3 separate regions of the Homo sapiens genome follow, and all the other regions are linked to region 1. The links are contacts of gene promoters, found by promoter capture Hi-C in blood cells and fetal thymus (Javierre and others, 2016). All regions are on one chromosome and are shown on one strand. Each heading gives the region's core, a stretch centred on a gene start or on the middle of the fragment in contact. The rest is flanking DNA. Distances are from core to core; before and after follow the strand shown. Region 1 holds the start of OR8D4 (olfactory receptor family 8 subfamily D member 4). Region 2 holds the start of OR8D2 (olfactory receptor family 8 subfamily D member 2). Region 3 has its middle 26 kb from the start of OR8B2.

Region 1 (2,714 bases), core at 22-2,521:
CATTGCCCAATAGACATATAATGCAGACACACGGGCAATTTAAAACATCCTAGAAGTTCATTTTGTAAAAAGTCAGAATAAAAAGATAAAATACATTTTACTAGTATGTTTTGTTTAACTCAGTTCAGTCCTTGATATCCATAGGAGACTGGTTCCTGGACCCCTTCAGATACCAAAATCCCTGAATGCTCAAGTCCCTGATTTAAAATGGTGTCGTATTTTTATGTAACCTAACTAAGCACATCCTTTTGTATACTTTAAATCATCTCTAGATTACTTATAATACCTAATATAATGTAAATGCTAAGTAAATATTTCTTTTAGTATATTGTTCAGGGAATAACAAGAAAAATGTCTGTACATATTCAGTACAGATATAACCACCCATTAAAAAAAAATCTTCCATCTGCCATTGGTTGAATCCACAGATGTGGAACCCACAGACACACAGGCCAACTGTACATGCAAAATGATGTACATGTACATCATTTCAACATATAATTCATATTTTAAAAATAATGAGATATTTTACATTATTTTATTATACAAATCTTTGAAATCCATAGTGTATTTTATACCCGGCCAGATTTCAAATGCTCAGTAGCCACCTATGGCTAGTGGCTATATTACTGGACAACAGAAGTCTAGAATGTGATCTTTTTCCCTAAATCTTTCAAATCTGAATTGTCCCCTTTTAAAGAAAGAAACCATTAGTACAGAGGTAACAGAAAGACCATGAACCCTGAGTTATAAGATGCAGTATCATTTTCATTTCTAAGATTTACAGTGCAACCTTTGACTCATAAAGTCTCTCTGAACTTCATATTTTAATCTGTAAAAAATAATAAATACTTCAAAAGATTGTTATGCAAATCAAATGAGACAATAACTGTGAATGTATTTTACATATTATAAGGTTCACATAAATATATTTGTAAATATATTTTTAAAGCAGGTGATTTCACAGATTAATTCATATATTAGACACAAGATACTTAGGTAAGGTGACTGGACAATGCATAAATGAGTCTGAGATGGATGCCTATGGCCTCTTCCCTAAACTTCTGTGACTCAGTGGCCTCAAACATGCAGCTCGAGAACCCATGGGGACAATCGGGAATTGATTTCAGAACACATTTTAATATACTTATAATATGAACATCATAATTCTGAAGCTCACCTTTTTCCTCCTGAAGACTGTAGGTGAGTATCTCTTCTTTCTCCTAACCTCATCACTTCAGGAGTAGAGATGGATTGATTTTACCTTCTTCTTTAAGTGTCTGAGTGACAACAGCTAACAAGAAGCTATGACTTTTATTCTCAGTTCAGGTATTTTGTGTCAAGAAATATAAAGACCAGTAGTCCCAAGGGTTTCTTGTCTCCTGAGGTACAGCAGCCTATGTATTTGTAAGAACTATCCATGAACTGGCCTATCATTTTGGGAATCTAACATGGATTAGTCACACTAATGCCCCTTGCCATTCAGTCGGGGAAGATACATGGTCTAACACATGGCTTGCATTTTAAAATGTTGAACAAATGAGGCATCATAGACAGTGCTTGGTATAATAAGCAGTAGGTAGACTTTGAGGTCAGAGATGGAACAGGTCATTACTGTCTAGAGCGATAAGGACGATCTTCATGGAAAGGTAGATTGTAAAATATGCCTTCAAAGGTGGGGAGGATCCATTTAAGCTGAGAGGATATGAAAGAATATTCAAGACGTAGATAAAGGCATAAGCAAAGGAACTGAGAAGTAGAAAACCTAAGGAATATGTGAAGAACACTGGGAATAGCTGAAGTGTTTCTTGGATGAAAGCAGTAGATTCAGTGTTTCTAGTGTCTGCTAATGATGGAAGAAGAGTCAGAGGAATGAGTCTGAGTCCAGCCCTCCAGTCTGTTCTAATGGCTTTCCAGGACATCTGGAAGAATGTGCCTGGTGATCCTTGGGTGAGCCTTTTGTGGCTCTGTTAAAATAACACATGCACTTAAAGCCTCCACATTTTCAGGGGCAAACAGCTATATTCAGATCTGCCTTTGGGGAAAACTGTGACACCACTTCAGATTATCTCATAATCAATAGTGTCTACCATGTCAAAGACACTAAATTTCTGGAGATGGAGCCAGGATAAATAAAGCATGGTCCTTCCCCCATTCATATTGGATGGTTATTAAAACATGTTTTAATGTCAATTTATTTCCTTGGGAAAAGTGCTTTGGTACCATTCCTATTCCCTTAACTATTCTCCCAGTGTACTGACCTCTGCTTTAACATTGTCCCCCCATACATGTATTTGTGCCTGTCTTCCCTGCTCTTTGGGAATTGCCCCCCCGCCGTTGAGACAAGGGACAATTTCTCATTCATTAGGGCCTATCGCAATGACCGGCTTAGAGTAGAATTTACTTTTTTCAGCATCATCCTCATTCCTACCCAGCATCTAGTTCAATCAGAACACTTTGTTCTCTCCTGTCTAGAAGATCGTGATCTGAAATGCTGATTAAAATAGGCCAACTTACAGGAGAGGATTTTCACTTACTAGATAAATAACAAAATGAGATCAATTCTTAACCAGGGGAAATCAGTCATGAATGAGGAAGCTTATGGTATTAGAAGAGCAGATATGTAACACACAATATTCTTGCTTATTCTTAAAATCAAATATTATAAATAACCATCAATCCTACTTATACTTGTCCAAGCAAGCTTATTGCAT
Region 2 (2,700 bases), core at 175-2,674, 420 kb before region 1:
TGTACTGTCTCTCTCTAAATAAGCTCTCTGCTATTTTTCTTCAACAAATTCTCTTTTTGGCTAATTCAGTCATTTGGTAGAATATTTTTCCAAGTAAGGCTAAAAATCTAGAATTCCTGAACTTCCCGTAACAGGGCTTGTTAGAGTTGCATTCTGGTAACTCTGATTCTCTTTCTCTTAGAGTATTCTCTAATTCCCCTAATTCAGAAACATGGCTGTCTTCTCAAGTGCTCTTGGAGATAACACCCCACCTGTCAGCTTTTAAATCGATATACATATTGAGTACCCTTAAAACACTGTAGAAGCAAATTTTTATAAATTTTTGTTTGTGATCATAAAAATATGTTTTTATGCAAAATAAAAGCAAACAACATCTCACTCTATGTATGGAGTTTTTCCTCCCTTGACATTTTTTCTCACTTTGGAAAAAAATTATGAAACCTGATGTCTTAGGTAATATACAGTGTTTCAGCTGAAAGCAACACACCCTGAATCCTTTGCTTAAACTTTAGGGGAAACGAAGTCAGGGAATAAGAAATCTCCAGTTCAGATCTCACAGCTTTGAAAGAGAAAGGTCAGTGAGAGTTTGGCCATGAATAATGGATAGCAGGAAAGGGCCAAGGAGGGAAGCGCTGAGTTGCTGATGGTTCAGGTCTTACACCTGAAAGTCAGCCTTACTTCTTTGCTTCTTTGCTGTTTCTGGAACAGGAAAGATCTAAACTAGAATCTCAGGATAGCCCTTGGCACAACATTTCTGTCAACCACATCCACACTGAGTACAAGAATCTCCTGGCCCACTCAAGTTTTCCATTCAAAGAACAGAAGTGAGCTAATGAGGGTCAGAATTGATTAGAACCATTTCCATACTTTTTTTTTTTGTACTAAGGTCTCTTTATAGACGTCTTTTATGTTTCTTATTTCCTAGTTTTAGCAAATGCTAATTATGTTGATTCATGTTGATGGGTAAGGAAACTGAAATGGACTACTTTTATATCATCAGAGCTGGATTAGAAGCCATGTTGTAACAAAGTCTGAAGGTTCTATTGGCATATGCTCAGATAAAGAAGGTAAGCAGTGTTGTTTTAATGGTAGCAATGACAAACTAATTAGATTTGGAAAGTTTGTGCTTCCTCCAGCAGTGAGGTAATTATGGGCATAAGCCTGGAAACAAAATGGGAGGACTCTTACTAAAAGAGGAGCATTCAACAGGGTTTTGGGTGAAATCAAGGTTCTTGGTTATACTCATAATATTTGCCCTTGATCTTGTAAGAGGTCCCTGAAAAGAGGCAATCATGGGACAGATGAGGCTCTCAGGAATGGAAGCAACCAACATGGGGCATGTCATTCTGCTTTGGGAATCAGAAAATAAATCTAATGTCTCTCTTTTCTCTTATTTCTTATTACACATAATACCTTAAAAGACATGGCTACTTCAAACCATTCTTCAGGGGCTGAGTTTATCCTGGCAGGCTTGACACAACGCCCAGAACTTCAACTGCCACTCTTCCTCCTGTTCCTTGGAATATATGTGGTCACAGTGGTGGGGAACCTGGGCATGATCTTCTTAATTGCTCTCAGTTCTCAACTTTACCCTCCAGTGTATTATTTTCTCAGTCATTTGTCTTTCATTGATCTCTGCTACTCCTCTGTCATTACCCCTAAGATGCTGGTGAACTTTGTTCCAGAGGAGAACATTATCTCCTTTCTGGAATGCATTACTCAACTTTATTTCTTCCTTATTTTTGTAATTGCAGAAGGCTACCTTCTGACAGCCATGGAATATGACCGTTATGTTGCTATCTGTCGCCCACTGCTTTACAATATTGTCATGTCCCACAGGGTCTGTTCCATAATGATGGCTGTGGTATACTCACTGGGTTTTCTGTGGGCCACAGTCCATACTACCCGCATGTCAGTGTTGTCATTCTGTAGGTCTCATACGGTCAGTCATTATTTTTGTGATATTCTCCCCTTATTGACTCTGTCTTGCTCCAGCACCCACATCAATGAGATTCTGCTGTTCATTATTGGAGGAGTTAATACCTTAGCAACTACACTGGCGGTCCTTATCTCTTATGCTTTCATTTTCTCTAGTATCCTTGGTATTCATTCCACTGAGGGGCAATCCAAAGCCTTTGGCACTTGTAGCTCCCATCTCTTGGCTGTGGGCATCTTTTTTGGGTCTATAACATTCATGTATTTCAAGCCCCCTTCCAGCACTACTATGGAAAAAGAGAAGGTGTCTTCTGTGTTCTACATCACAATAATCCCCATGCTGAATCCTCTAATCTATAGCCTGAGGAACAAGGATGTGAAAAATGCACTGAAGAAGATGACTAGGGGAAGGCAGTCATCCTGACAAAGAGGGTTCTCATTGGCAGCCAGAAAAAATAAACCATATAAAAAGTTGTTATAGGATCTTTGTAAGTTTCTGTCTCTCTCGGAGAGAGAAAAATTATCATCACTTAAAAATGTATATTTTATATTAGAGAATGATTAAGACATTTTTGGAGATTATGAAACAAAATTTTCTGATGGTCAATATAATCTTCGAAAATGTATTAGAGAAATGGGAGATGACAGAAGAGGAAGGGCAAATAAACATTAAAAACAATTTATTGAACATATTACTTTTGAAAGCCCAGGCTGGTCTTGAACTTCTGGCCTCAAGTAATCCTCCAAACTTGGCCTCCCAATGTG
Region 3 (2,700 bases), core at 167-2,666, 460 kb before region 1:
TCTGCATGGCTGATGTACAATCCCCAGAGTGAAAAGAAAACTTGAGTAAAATATTGAGTCTCTAAGGAACTAAAGGCAGATTATGGTCCAGGGTGGAAATACAATTCCCCCGTTTTCCTGTTACTCTTAAAATCTGTTTCCTGGGGAAGAGACTGAGCAAGCTTCTATCCTCTTTAGAACAACTTGTATTATTATCATTAAACTCATAGTAAGTCTTCTGGTGTCTCATTAAATGGCATATATGATAACAATAAAGACTTTATTTTTTCTGATGCTTGAGAGGATTCAAAGCAATAATAATAAATTAGATGATCTGTAGTTCAGAAAAAATTTCAGAACATACTGGAAATAGAGTTTGGGCTGCACCTTCTTAGAAGCAAAAAACCCAAAGCCTCAGACCCTGAAATTGCCCTTCCAGGACCACTGGGTAAGTAATCAACAGTACGCACCAAGGTTGTCTGGCATGAGAGGGTGTATTTCTGAATTCTATTTATATTACTGTCTTGCTTTGAAACGGAATTACAGGGATATAACATATTGCCTTTTATTTTACACCTTGTCAGTCTTGAGATTCAAGTGCAACTGATGTAAGAATCTATTTAAAGTGGGAGCTGGGAATGTTCAGAGAAAACAGAGAAAGCGGTGGATGCGGTATTTTGGTCAGTAATTCCCTCTCCATGAATGAAAATCTACCTCTTCTAGATTTATGGCTTTTTCTGTGACTTGGAGTAGTAATATAACCTTTTCTAGACTTGGTTCCCCTACCTGTGTATTAGAAACAAGATTCTTTCTCCCTCCCACACCACAGTCTAATCTGCATTGGAGATGGGCACCAGGTCGCAAAGGTCTCTGCTTCCAATTTTAACGGTGAGGGAGGACTCAAGTGAATGAAGAAATAATGAGATGAGGGAAGGATGATTCTGTCCCCATTCATCCTTTTTCTCCCTTATTCTATCACTTCTTAAGAGTTACGTTTGCATATGGGAGAACCAGCCTTCACTCCATAGGCTAAGTTGGTGCTATATCTGGTTTAGTAAGATTCTACCATGGGTAAGTCAATGTCACTCAGTAACATAGTAGTGGTAAAGGCAGATTCTGTGGGTCCACATCAGTCTAGTTTCAGACAATCTCAACAATATTCCAAGGTGTGGGAGAAAACACCATGGGAAGTTCTGGGTTGTCCTCTTATGCAACCCTTTTCTCCTGTGTCCATAGATTCCCTTAGAGTAGAATGGCTCCTGGAAATGGCTCTTTGATGAATGAATTCATTCTGGTGGGGTTAACAGACTAGCCAGATCTTTAACTCCCTCTGTTCTTCATGTTTCTTGTAATGTATGTTGTCACTGTGATAAGAAACTTTGTCTTGGTAATTCTAACTATGCGAAATTCACGTCTTCACACTCCCAAGTACTTTTTCCTTTCTAAATTGTTCTTCACAGACCTCTGTTATTCTTCTGTGTTTATACTCCAACTTCCGAGGAAGTGTATTTCAGAGGAGAATGTTATCTCCTACATGGTTTGCATGATCTAGCTTTTCTTTTTCTTTTTCTGTTTTTTTTTTTTTTTAATTTATTTCTGAATGTTATATGCTGACGTCAATGGCCTATGATTGCTGTGTGGCCATCTGTTACCCACTTCTTTATCACATTGCCATGTCCCCTAAAGTGTGTTTCAGCCTTATGCTTGGTTCCTACTTCCTATCCTTTTCTGGGGCCATGGCCCACACTGGATGCATGCTGAGGCTGACCTGTGATGCAAACACCATCAATCATTACTTCCGTGACATCCTCCCTGTGTTCCAGCTCTCCTGCACCAGCACCTACATCAATGAACTGGTGGTTTTCATTGTGGCAGGCATCAATACCATTGTGCCCACTGTCACCGTCTTTATCTCTTATGGTGACATCCTCTCCAGGATCCTCCACATCAGTTCCAATGAGGGAAGGTCCAAAGCCTTCAGCACTTGCAGTTCCCACATAATTGCTGTTTCTCTGTTCTTTGGATTAAGTGCATTTATGTATCTCAAACCATCTTCTGCTGGGTCTATGGATGAGGGAAAATTCTCTTCTGTTTTTTATATGAATGGGCTTCCCATGATGAGCTCCTTAATCTACAGCTTAAGGAGGAAAGATGTTAAATTTGCCATGGGAAAATCTCTGAGTAGGAGAATGTTTTTGCCATAAACAACATTTCTCTGTGTATGTAGTTACAGGATGGGGATTCTCTGTATTTTATTATAATAATTGAGGAGGAAATAATTTTTCCTATTTGTTATCATGATGATGGTTAGTTGAGTATCATCCTGTCAATTTGTCTCCAATTTTTTATAGTAGATTTTTCCCCTCACCCTTTGCACATCTTTCCCCTTTTCATCATTTTTCCTGTGTAATAATAAAGAAAGTTTTTCTCTTTTTCCATTGTCATTATGGACTTCCTTTTTTCTTCTAGAAAAGATGATTGGTTTTTCAAATGATCAAGTAAAGTAAAATTAGGATAACAATGTTCCGCTGCATGTAAGAGCCTGACAACCTGTCTCTACTCGTCTTTCCATCCTCCACTGGGCAGCATCATGCATCCTTTAAACGTCAGCGTTTTCCAGACAGACAAGGTTCAACAAGACTTAACAAATACAGCCCACTTTGCAGTTTTAAATACTACACATGAAGCTTCTTTTGGCATTAATTTTACGTTTACCTTGGT

The links. The method cuts DNA at HindIII sites, captures the fragments that hold promoters and counts their contacts. A CHiCAGO score of 5 or more calls a contact.
Region 2: the fragment with the promoter of OR8D2 here is called in contact with the fragment with the promoter of OR8D4 in region 1 in 4 of 17 cell types (activated CD4 T cells, monocytes, erythroblasts and 1 more); the score reaches 6.8 in activated CD4 T cells.
Region 3: a contact is called between a fragment that was not itself captured here and the fragment with the promoter of OR8D4 in region 1, in 1 of 17 cell types (erythroblasts). The highest score is 5.5, in erythroblasts.

The regions. Positions count from the first base shown.
Region 1 is chr11:123,900,724-123,903,437 of GRCh38, reverse strand. It overlaps OR8D4 (olfactory receptor family 8 subfamily D member 4), which reads right to left and starts at 1,271. Exons shown (of 2, transcript NM_001005197.2): 1 at 1,181-1,271. The HindIII fragment of the contact is 7,569 bases long and covers 1-2,600 here.
Region 2 is chr11:124,318,921-124,321,620 of GRCh38, reverse strand. OR8D2 (olfactory receptor family 8 subfamily D member 2) reads left to right here and starts at 1,424. Exons shown (of 1, transcript NM_001002918.1): 1 at 1,424-2,359. The coding sequence starts at 1,424. The coding sequence ends at 2,359. The region is part of intron 2 of LOC112268069 (a long non-coding RNA gene); the gene reads right to left. The HindIII fragment of the contact is 6,670 bases long and covers 1-2,700 here.
Region 3 is chr11:124,357,031-124,359,730 of GRCh38, reverse strand. It overlaps the pseudogene OR8B5P. Among named protein-coding and RNA genes, the nearest start is that of OR8B2, 26 kb to the left of the region's middle. The HindIII fragment of the contact is 2,505 bases long and covers 164-2,668 here.